Regions from separate parts of the Homo sapiens genome. Here region 1 is linked to region 2. The links are contacts of gene promoters, found by promoter capture Hi-C in blood cells and fetal thymus (Javierre and others, 2016). All regions are on one chromosome and are shown on one strand. The core of a region is centred on a gene start or on the middle of the fragment in contact, and the rest is flanking DNA. Distances in the headings are between cores, read along the strand shown.

Region 1 (6,213 bases), core at 1,993-4,492, 180 kb before region 2:
CCTGACCAGCATGATATCTTATGAACAATGGAAAAAAGCAGAGATCATGATAATAGAGTTAGATGGAGTCATAACTGAAACATTCAAGAAGAGATCCTTTACTAGATGGAAGTCTCTAGTGATGTGCCACAGGGCTCTGTCTTTGCATCTGTTTGGATAACGTTTTCATCAATCACTTGGATAAAGATAAAGCACATTTATCAAGTTTTGCACATGACACAAAATTAGGAAAGACTGAATAATAAAACCAGAATACAAATATGTTGCAATAAGCTGGAATGAAGATCCCAAGACAAGAATTTACTTTAATAGATGTAAATGTATTTGTGCTGTCAAAGTAAATTACATAAATACAAATTGGAAAGACTTGGTTTGACAGTAGTTTTTATGAAAAAGACTTGGTAGTTTGAGGTGTCTAGAAAACTGAGAAGGACCAGTGATGAGACAACAGCCAGAAAGTCAAAGCAATCGTAGGCAGCACTGACACATTTGTGAAGTCCAAGTCAAGGCATGTGCTGTTCCCCTGAGGTACCACATCACAGCATAAAATCCACATCTTTGCAGCTCACTCTAATGGAGGAGGAGCTTCTAACAGAGAAGCTATTTTTGGAATTTCATGACCTGCAGAATGGCTGATGGGACTGGAGCTAGTTAATCCGGAGAGGAGGAGATGTTGCAGGGGCATGATCATCACCATCACTAACATTTACTGTGCGCTTACTCCGTGCCAGGCTCTGTTTGAAGTGCTTTATTTATTTGTTTGTTTGTTTATTTATTTATTTTTGAGATGGAGTTTCGCTCTTGTCACTCAGGCTGGAGTGCAGTGTCGCGATCTTGGCTCACTGCAACCTCTGCCTCTCGGGTTCAAGCAATTCTCCTGCCTCAGCCTCTTGAGTAGCTGGGATTACGGGTGCCCGCCACCATGCCTGGCTAATTCTTGTATTTTAGTAGAGACGGGGTTTTACCATATTGGCCAGGCTGGTCTCGAACTCCTGACCTCAGGTGATCCGCCCGCCTCGGCCTCCTAAAGTGCTGGGATTACAGGCGTGAGCCACTGTGCCCGGCCTAAGCACTTTAGATGTATAATATAATTTAATATGTATAAAAACCTCATGCGTTATTACTTTTTTTTTTTGAGATGGAGTTTAGCTCTTGTTGCCCAGGCTGGAGTGCAATGGCGTGATCTCGGCTCACCGCAACCTCCGCCTCCCAGGTTCAAGCAATTCTCCTACCTCAGCCTCCCGAGTAGCTGGGATTACAGGCATGCGCCACCACGCCTGGCTAATTTTGTATTTTTAGTAGAGACGGGGTTTTTTCCGTATTGGTCAGGCTGGTCTCGAACTCCTGACCTCAGGTGATCCGCCCACCCCGGCCTCCCAAAGTGCTGGGATTACAGGCGTGAGCCACCGCGCCTGGCTGGGGTTATTACTATTGTTATCCCTTTTTTATTTAACACCTGCAGACACTGAAGCACCCAGGGGCTAGGTAACACCGAAGGCAACACAGCTGTCAAGTGATTGACTGGGAGCCAGGGTGGGGTGGGGTGCCTCCAGATTTCTTATCCATAACTCCCTGCTGCCTCCCAACCGTCTTTAATAACGATTGCCTAACAGGTGGCTCTGTGGTTAGAAATTTTAGGCAAGCAGATTCCAGAAGAGCTTCCTGCAAAATAGCGGGTCCTCTCTTGGCTGGTGATGTTTAAGCTCAATGAACTAATCAGTTCAATGCTATTCAAATAGCATGCGCTCCATTCCTAAGGCAACTTGCATTCTAAAGCAAAGTTATGAAGCAGAGAATTGTCTTGTAACACACAACTACCAATGACATCCAATAATAACACTTATTAAAAGGTGAGGACACATCCTCCAGCTCTGCTGGGGACAATGTGGGGAATTCTGTCTGGAGCAAGGCCTTCGATAAGCTTGAGGCAGCTTGTAACTCTTAGCGTTTAGACTTTCACTGGCTGAGTTGTTATTCTTCATATTTGAATCTAAGAGCCATGGAGAGTTCTTAGATTGTTAGTTTTCCTGGACAGTTTTCTTTCCCTATACCTCCAACCCAAACACTTCCTTTGCCCTTCAGGTGAAAATGGAAATGCTCTTCACTCTTGGGATGGGCCCTCACCTTTTAGTAAGTGTTATGGTTGGGTGTCGATTAAAATTAAGGGGGCTGTGTGTTGCAGGACTACTCCCTTGTTCAGAGCCTTGCTTTAGAATGGGAGCTGCCACGGGAACAGAGCTCATGCTATGTTAATATGACTTTATTGCGGACACGGTGATGATCTAAAATCCTTTGCAAAGGCACTTGAATTTTGTAAACACCACTGTGTTCTCCCACTCCAGATACATGTAGTCAATGTCTGAACTATTGCTTGATTTCGTTCTTTAGACAAAAACTACTGTCTTTTTAAGAAAAAAAAAAAAAAAAAAAAAAAAAAACAAAAAAACAAAAAACTACTCCACGTTGTCTTTGAGGGTGATTAATTGCATAAGAAAGAACCCCATGATTCGTGTTACTCAGCAGAATCAAAAAGGCTTGTGCATTGTACTTGGGTAGCATGAGTTTAGTCATCTGAATCACAAACCCATGACCTCTGGATACTTGGGAGCCAGAATGAGGGCCCAAGGGAGCATCTGACTGTACTGAATTAGAGGGAGGCAGAGGAAGGGGTGGGGTGCCAGGGCTTCCTTGGGAAGAAAGCGTCAGAGTGAGGGTGAGGGGATGGGGAGTGAGAGCCGATAAGTAGGAGGAAGAGTTGTAAAATCAGAGGCCTGGCAAAGTAATGAAGATAAAAGAATGTTACACTAAAGTTAAAATTAAGGACTTAAGAATCAGGAATTTGGCCGGGTGCAGTGGCTCGTACCTGTAATGCCAGCACTGTGGGAGGCCGAGGCGGGCAGATCACGAGGTCAGGAGTTCGAGACCAACCTGACCAACATGGTGAAACCTTGTCTCTATTAAAAATACAAAAAATTAGCCAGGCGTGGTGGCATGCGCCTGGAATCCCAGCTACTCAGGAGGCTCAGGCAGGAGAATCACTTGAACCAGGGAGGTGGAGGTTGCAGTGAGCTGAGATCATGCCATTGCACTCCATCCAGCCTGGGTGACAGAGCAAGACTCCATCTCAAAAAAAAAAAAAAAAAAAAAAGAGAATCAGGAATTCAGGAAAATATTGTTACAATTCCCAAAGGGTCAGACCTGTGTGTGAAATTGGGCAGATGGGTTTGACCTCATCATAGAACGTCATTCCAGTTTTTCCTCTACGTTTCTAGAACGCCCTGGCTTCATGAAAGACGGGGGACAAGGTGAGGAGGAGCAGCCTGCTAAATGCACAGAACCCGGCATGCTCAGAGATGGTTCTTTTGATTATGTTGGCCGTCCCCTCCCCGCCCCCAAGGCCCTGGCCAAGTCCTCTGTCCTTTCCTTTCTCTGACAAACCTGGCGGCAGTGCCAGAAACAATGAATTGATGAATTGGTACCTGTATATTTTTCCCAGATCATCAGGGCTACAGTCTGCATGCATGGGTGTTGCATTTAACTTTAAAAGAAAACTAGAGTTTAGAAAGAAAAATGGCTGTTTATATATTCTGCATAATGGAGAGGTTTCCTTCCTTCCTTCCTTCCCTCCTTCCCTCCCTCCCTCCTTCCTTCCTTCCCTCCCTCCCTCCCTCCTTCTTTTCTTCTCTTTTCTTTTCTTTCTTGACGGAGTCTCGCTTTGTTGCCCAGGCTGGAGTGCAGTGGCGCGATCTGGGCTCACTGCAAGCTCCGCCTCCTGGGTTCACACCATTCTCCCGCCTCAGCCTCCCAAGTAGCTGGGACTACAGGCGCCTGCCACCACGCCCGGCTAACTTTTGGTACTTTTAGTACAGATGGGGTTTCACCGCATTAGCGAGCTTGGTCCCAATCTCCTGACCTTGTGATCCGCCCGCCTCGGCCTCCCAAAGTGCTGGGATTACAGGCATGAGCCACCGTGCCCGGCCTCTCTTCTCTTTCCTTTTCTTTCTCTCTTTCTCTCTTTCTTTCTCTCTTTCTCTCTTTCTTTCTCTCTCTTTCTCTCTTTCTCTTTCTTTCTTTTCTTTTCTTTCCTTCCTTCCTTCCTTCCTTCCTTCCTTCCTTCCTTCCTTTTCTTTCTTCCCTCCCTCCTTCCTTCCTTCCTTCCTTCCTTCCTTTCCTTCCTTCCTTCCTTCCTTCCTTCCTTCCTTCCTTCCTTCCTTCCTTCTTTCTTTTTCTTTCTTTCTTTCTTTCTTTCTTTCTTTCTTTCTTTCTTTCTTTCTTTCTTTCTTTCTTTCTTTCTTTCTTTCTTCTTTTTCTTTCTTTTCTTTCTTGTCTTGCCCTGTCACCCAGGCTGGGCAATCTACCTGCCCTAGGCTTCTGAGTAACTTGGACTACAGGTGTGCACCATCACACCTAGCTTTTTTTGATTTTTTATAGAGATGGCGGGGGTGGGGGGGCTCTCTCTATGTTGCCCAGGCTGGTCTTGAACTCCCAAGCTCAAGCAGTCCTTCTGCCTTGGCCTCCCAAAGTGCTGAGATTACAGGTGTCAGTCACCATGGCTGGCTGTGGAGAAGCTTTCATGCTCCCCAGACATCTTCTTCAGTAGTCTGTGAGAATCTCAGAAATTCCTGGTATGTGTGGGGTACCGGCTGGTGGCTGTGTGTACAGACACACCCACACATCCACCCACATCCATGTCCACTCCTGTATACACCAATTGGCCGTAAGCCTAAGGTATGGAGAGTCATTTCTACACGTGAGATGAAACCAGTGCCCTTGCCTCCTATCACCGTATGTGTATGTGCACACTGTCATGCCAAATAAAACACATTTCCATTCAAGGCAGTAGCAAAACAGGGTTGCCGATTGTGTGGCTGAAAAGCAGTGCATGTCACCAACTGTCCCTAACTCACGGTGAGTGATCCATCCCTGTGACCTTGATTTTCACGATCTTTCATTTTTATTTACCTTTTATCTTTTGTAGAGATGGGTTCTCACTATGTTGCCCAGGCTGATCTTGAACTCCTGGGATCGAGCAGTCATCCCTCCTCGGCCTCCCAAGTAGCTGGGACTACAAGCTGGCCCAGATATAAGCAGGCAGTTTTTAATTTTTTTTATTATTATTTTTTGAAACGAACTCTCTATTGCCCAGGCTGGAGTGCAGTGGCGCGATCTCAGCTCACTGCAACCTCCACCTCCCAGGTTCAAGAGATTCTCTTGCCTCAGCCTCCCGAGTAGCTGGGATTACAGCTACTTGGCTGTACACCATGCCCGGCTAATTTTGTATTTTTAGTAGAGACGGGGTTTCACTATGTTGGCCAGGCTGATCTCCAACTCTTGATCTGCTCACTTCAGCCTCCCAAAGTGCTGGGATTACAGGCGTGAGCCACCGTGCCCGGCTAGAGCAGGCAGTTTAATGCTGGGCTCCCATAGTGGTAAGTCTTCAGGGTACTGAAATTTCGAATTTAGATTTATTTGTTGGTTTGTGTGTTTTTCTCTATTATATAGGCTTTAGAAGGACAGAAATTTGTTCTGTTTTTCTCAGTATTCCCTGAGCCTAGGACAGTGCCTGTACACATGGGTAAAATGAATAAACTTTTTGGGAGAAGGGTATTTTTTTTTCTTTTGTCACAGGCTAATTAGAATGATGTCCTTTCACTCAGAGAACACAGCCCTCAGGTTCTTCTCTTGTCTATTCTGGTGTCTTGAATGCCAATTTGTCTTCAAATAATTTTGATGAATTTCAGCTGATCAACCATCAGATTTTTGTGTGTGTTTCCATATAAGAACACTTAAATCCAGTGTGATAAAAGCAACTTACAAGCCCGAGGCTTGGAAGAAAGGAAAGGAATTTTTTACTTCTTGGGCTGAATACATTTCATCACATCCCAATTTATTTCCCTGAGGCTTTTCTTTGTCAAGCTTGGGAAAGTGCTGTTTCCTAGGAGAACCACACAAGAACAAACTTTAAATATGAGAAAAGAGAAAAGCACACCCCAAAGCAAAACAAAACAAAAAAAACCCCCAAAAACAATAAGAGAAGCATTTTAGATGGATTTTCTCCAAAGATCGATTGCATTGTGTTCCAAACGCATTTCTTTTCTTTCTTTTTTAAATTTTTTTTGAGATGAAGTTTCACTCTGTTACGCAGGCTGAGGTGCAGTGGCATGATCTTGGCTGACTGCAACCTCCACCTCCTGGGTTCAAGTGATTCTCCCG
Region 2 (5,896 bases), core at 2,577-5,076:
CTGTCCTCCCAGGAGCTAGATTTCTGACCCACGCGCCATTAGCTCCTTTCTGTTACTCAGTAGACAAAGGCTGGAGTGGGTTGTAAATGTTTCGGCTATCGCCGGTCTGATGACCATGCATGCCCCTGGCCCTGTTCTTTGCTTCTGCATGTCCTAGCATGTGCCTCTCTCGTGTAACTCATCACATGGCTTACTTGTCTGTCATGCTCATTTGACTTTAAGTTGCTTGATATAGTAGCAGCTATGTTTTATTCATTGTTGATCCTCAGAGCCTAGCAGTGTTTTAACATCTATGAATGAATGAATGAATGAATGAATGAATGAATGAGATTTGTAATGCAAAAAGGTTTATGGATACAATTAGAAATCCTGAATGAAGATGTGAATAAAGAAGTGTGTCCAAACAGCCTTCTGTTGCTAAAGGAAACAGGACGCTTCTGGATTCACGTATGTAAGAGCAGCGAGAAGCTACAAAGGAAGCCCTGGGTCCACAGGCACACCCTAAGCCTTTCCAGGCAGATGCACCCAGAGTTTCATCAAACAGATTCTCTGCCAATCCATTTCCTCTCACCTGTGGAAACATTCCTGCTTTTAAATGAGCAAAGCGCAGAAAACAGTGATGATCTCATGAAATAGTATATTATCTTTAGTGCACAGAGATCAGGAGACAGATTGCTCAAAAACCAGTGACAGATTGGAAATGTTATGTCCTTTTCCAAGCTGGGTGGACCCCTACTGATTAGAGCCATTTTGGATAATGTATCTCCAAACTTCTGAGCTTTTGCTGCTCTAACTGCAATGTTTACATCAGTGCCTGACCTTATACTCTTTCACTGATGAGGACAAAGATGGTCTTCACACGGGACATTTTCACATTTGTTTCCCAGCCCGGAAGGGAAGAGTAATGCCACCAAAATGCCCGTGCTTAGTGTTCAAAATGACTACATCACTGTAGGGCACTTAGCTCCGGGATTTATTCTCAGCTGTAACCACGTTTAAGGGGCCACATCACCTCAAATGGTCGCACAATCAAATGACTCTAGTCTTCCTAACGTAGGTCCCGAGTTTTGGGAACACTTCAATTCAGTGGGAAGGACCCTGGAAAAGCGTATCGGGGCCTCGTTCTCGTCTTTCCCTTTCCGCCTTTTAATGGAATTGTTTGAGGACTTTTGCTAATGCAGTCATTTCCAGGAGAGGAAGCCGCCTTTCTTCCAGGCCCCAAGCAGCTGGAGTGAATCAGAGGGGCAGCCACATCTGCACATCCTGTGGGGCAATCGCTCACGCGCGGGTGACGGCGCCAGCAGGCCGGCTGGGGCCGGGGGCGCTTGGGGACCGCGGGGCGGGGCGGGGGCGTAACGGGTGGGGCCTCTCGGGGGTGCCTGGGCCGCGCCATCTCCACTTCCGAGCGCGCCCTCCCACCCTGATGAGTAACGCGCCGTCTCTCCCGTTTACTACGGCGCCCGGTCGCCTAGCAGCGGGGCGCGTTGCCGCGGCGACAGGCCGGCCGTGTTTGGCATTGTTTGCGAGGCCCCGCCCCGCGGCCGCCAACCACCCATGGCTTCCTGACCGGGTCGGGCGGGGGTACCCGGGCTGTTTCTTCCTCTGGGTCTTCCTCCGTCGGTTGAGAACGGTGTCCCGGGGGCCCTCCCAGAGAGCAGGGACTGCCAGGGCAGGCCAGGGACCCGGCGAGCCGCGGAGGGCGGGGCCACATGTGTCCCGGAGCTGGGCCGGGGCGCTAGGCCACCTGAGGCGCGTCCCCTCTGCCGCCTGGCGAGGCTGCGCGGGAGGGCGGAGAGACTGGGTAGTCGGAGGGATTCCTTACACCCAGGCCGGTGGGCCAGGGCTCGGGATGTGTCGAGCTGCTGGAGTCCAAAGTCAGGCATTTCCCTGCCTCTGCCCGGTAAAGCTATGGGTCCCAGGCTCCCGTTCTAAGGGAAGGGGATGTCTGCGTCTCATTGGGAAGACCCCAGGGCGGGACTTCACCACCCAGACCCCTCAGCAGATCCGAGTTCTATTTACGACCCAATGCACGACTGCACTGAGGATTTTGGCCAAGTTACTTAACCTCCCAGAGGGTTAAATTTACCCTCAGGGGTAAATGAGGGCAAAGAGTTGTCCTTCTTAGTTCTGTGAAAATCGAAAACAGGTAGAAGAAGAGTGCCTCTAAGCAGAAACGAAGGGGAAGTGCACCTGTGCTACCAGCAGACACCTTGCTAGACCCTTCAGACATCTTCCTTAATCCTCACAACCAGCCTGAAAGGGACGTGGCATCCCCATTCTACAAGTGAGGGTTCCGATTCGGAGGGTTTGACTTGCTCAAGGCCACAAAGCTAGTAAATGGTAAAGTCAACACTGGCAATCTTTGAGGACTGTTCGCCTGACTCATCACCAGGCTGCCACTCAGTAAAAGCCAAGGCACAGTCACCTTTAACAAAATGTACAGATTGCAGGCCAGATTTATGGGACCTCCTGCAGATTGAGGCAATGGATTAAGTGTACTTTATACTTCTCAGGTACATATTAGCAACCAGACGCTCCCATATTCCCTCTGTGTCTCTCCTGGAAAACCACTGATAAAGAACAATAATAAAATTTATTCTAAGCCATGACTGGCTTTTTCTGTCATGTTCACATCCACTTCTTTGTCATCTATTCACTTGGGGCTGCTTCTGAATTAGGGAAGCTGCCTGAACCCACACTCCGATGGCTCTTCAGAACCACCAGCTCAGCTCTGCAGTCCCAGAAGTGCCTCTTAAGTTATCCTGTTCTTTCCTTTGAGATCCTAACTTCCAGCTGGTCAACAACATACCACATTGCTCCCTGTGTTGGAGTGTATGTACGTGTGTGTGTGTTTGTGTATGTGCTAGTTTGCTGGCTAATTGCAAGCTTCATTTTTCTCTCCTGAGAAAGGCAAGATATCTGAGAATGAACACCATTTGTTTTTTTAAGTAATCCTTAGAGCTGAAAGTTGGGAGGCTGGTCGTTTCTGAATGTAGGTCAAATGCTAAACAAGCCGCAACTTCTCTGCAGAGTGTGAGAGTCTTCCTGGTCTGGAAGGATCCCTGAAGATTCTGCTGGATTCTCTGAGACGAGAAAGAGCTTGACTGTGTGTTGTCCTTCCCAGTTCCAGATCAGAGCTGCCTTCCAGCAGGACCTTGGGGATGCCCCACTGTTCTCTGGCATAGAGCTTGATGTCTGCTCTTTCAGCTCACTGGGGTGACACACAGCTCTATTGTTGCCACCGCTACTGGGCCTTTACCAGGCTCCAGATTTTGGCAACGGGAATAATGCAGATGAAAGGAAAAAAGGAGAGGCATAGGGAGCCCTGGGAACAGAAAGGAGAAGGAAGATGATGAGACAAGGGAAGAAGAAATGGAAGTTTTAATGAAGGAAGATGAAAAGGTAATAGGCCAAGGTATGGACATACCAGTTTTATCTATGAAAACTGGGCTGAGTGACACATTTTCATTCCATTTTGTAGAACCCTATAGTGCATTTCCAAGCTCTTTACTGTGACCATGTGAAATACATGAAATTGATGAGTTAGTGTAACCTGTGTTACAAATCCAGCAGTAAAGATATGTGTATGAGATGTTCATGAGATTTCAAAATCACTGTACCTACCTCCTGGGTGAGGCAAACATTTTGAGTCAGTTGAGAGGGATCGCTCATTCACTCTTGCAGCGGGAAGGCAGAGAAGTTTCAGTTTATCTTCTGTTCTGTCTCAATCAGTTGGGTAGAATGAGTGTTTAGCGTGAGGATGAATCAGGTCCCCTCTTGCCAGCAGAGGGGTAAGGTGGTGTGTGGTGGATTGGAGAGGATGTCCTGAGGGCCAGACACCAGCCAGGGCGGGGTTGGGTGACCCGTGGGGTTTATTCTGTGATGTCACAACGGCAGTCAGGGGTCTCCCTGTTGCTCCCTCAGCCTCCTCCCATAAGGATTGGGGGGGGTCATGCTGGGTACCTACCAGTGGCTGGATGTCTTCTGAGGTCGTCCAGATCAGTGCTTATCTTATTGTGCATAAGATTCACCTGGGGAACTTAGTCAAGTGCAGATCCTGACTTAGTCAAGTGCAGAGTCTGGGATGGCTCTCACGTGAGTCCAGCCAGACCACACTGAGTTGTGAGACTCTAGACCAGTGCTGTCAAAGCAAAATGCAATGTGGGCAGCATATGTCATTTAAAATTTTCTGGTAGCCACATTAAAAAAAGTAAATTGGACACACATACTGTGATACAGCAATCATATGTTATACAATACTATGTTTAAAATGTAGCCCTCCCCACACAATAAAGTTGGGTTTAATGAAAAATATTTTATACTACTTTCATTTTAAAATTAAAATTTAGTGAATTCAAATTACATAAAATTAGAAATTCAGTTGCTCAGTTGCACTATCCATATCATAAGGGCTCCACAGCCACACATGGCAAGTAGCTACTGTATTGGATGGCACAACTCAAGGCCATTCCCTGAAAAGGTAACAATGTACAGAAATTACCATTCTAAAGGGCTAGTATCTGGAAACCCAGCAAACATTCACTAACATCATTTTAATGAATACATAATTAGTGTTTGGGGACTGTTAATATGGAGGCATAACTCTCGGAGACTGGAAGAGGGCCTCATCCAGGATTCCAGCTAACAGTCTGGATGGGGCCCTCTGCCCTGTGAAACCTGTCACACTCAGTCCTCCTCTGAGCTTTTGCCAGGGTTCCCCTCACTGGGATCCCTTCCTTCTCCTTGCTGCCCTGCCTAAATCTTACACAACCTCAGGGCACATGATTCCAGTCTCACTACCTTGTGGCTCTAGCCCTCCTTACTCCCCATTTCCTCTTTGCTCATACAGCATGCCTGCTTTGCTTTTGGTGTGTTAGTCTGTTTCTCTCGTGAAATTCTAAGCTGCTTGAGGACAGAATCTGGTTTTTTACTTCTATCGTGCTTAATATAGTGCCAAGGGCATAGTAGCTGCTCAAGAAATATTTATTATTTTATTTAATGACCTAAACTACCTAAGGAAGTATCTAAGAGAGAACATCGGATCTCGAAGTGCCAATAACTTCCCCAATGGAACAACATGCCTTATTTTTGGCACATCTTAAATTGATCAAGATGTCCGTTATAAGTTAATTTATAAATTTAATACAAATAACCATGAGTATTTTAAAAGACCAACACAAGTTGATATTAAAGTTTATATGGGAAAAAAATACACAAGACTAGCTAGGAAAACCCTGAAAAGGAAGAGCTCTGAGGTGGTGCTAGCCCTAATTGATATAAAGCATACTACAAAGCCTCTATGATTAAAACAACATGGCACATGTATACATATGTAACAAACCCGCACGTTGTGCACATGTACGCTAGAACTTAAAGTATATTAAAAAAAACAAAAAAACCAAAAAAAAACAATGTGGTACTGGTGCATGACTAGACAAACAGGCCAATGGAAGAGAACAGAAAGTCTAGAGATAAACACAGCTATGTATAGACTTCCAGTATAGGACAAAGGTGATATCTGTAATCACTGGGGCACAGATGATTTTTTTAAGAAATGTTGTTGGGATAAACTAGATAGCCATTTAGAAAAATATAAATTATATTTATTTAAAAATCATATACAAGAATAAACTCTAGATGGACTAGAGATCTGAATTTTAAAAATGAGATTATGGCCGGATGCTTAATCCCAGCACGTCAGGAGGCCGAGGCAGGAGGATAACTTGAGCCCAGGAGTTCAAGACCAGCCTGGGCAACACAGTGAAACCTTATTGCTACGAAAAGTACAAAAATTAGCTGGGCGAGGTTGTGAGCGCTTGTAGTCCCAGCTACTTGGGAGACCGAGGTGGGAGGATTGCTTGAGCCCGGGAAGTTGAGGCTGCAGTGAGCCATGATC

Evidence for each region. Contacts are between HindIII fragments. The CHiCAGO score rates a contact against its expected background, and 5 or more counts as called.
Region 1: a contact is called between a fragment that was not itself captured here and the fragment with the promoter of GSG1 in region 2, in 2 of 17 cell types (M0 macrophages and naive B cells). The highest score is 6.7, in M0 macrophages.

What each region holds. Positions count from the first base shown.
Region 1 is chr12:12,919,727-12,925,939 of GRCh38, forward strand. No RefSeq gene overlaps it. Among named protein-coding and RNA genes, the nearest start is that of GPRC5D-AS1, 4.9 kb to the right of the region's middle. RefSeq lists enhancers at 1,233-1,377, 2,470-2,614 and cis regulatory regions at 1,305, 2,462-2,549, 2,542. The HindIII fragment of the contact is 2,647 bases long and covers 1,920-4,566 here.
Region 2 is chr12:13,099,841-13,105,736 of GRCh38, forward strand. GSG1 (germ cell associated 1) reads right to left here and starts at 3,827. Exons shown (of 7, transcript NM_001080555.4): 1 at 3,625-3,827. The coding sequence starts at 3,672. It overlaps LOC105369666 (a long non-coding RNA gene), which reads left to right and starts at 1,590. Exons shown (of 2, transcript XR_931369.3): 1 at 1,590-1,900; 2 at 2,147-2,606. RefSeq lists silencers at 1,206-1,435, 1,716-1,765. The HindIII fragment of the contact is 5,406 bases long and covers 2,885-5,896 here.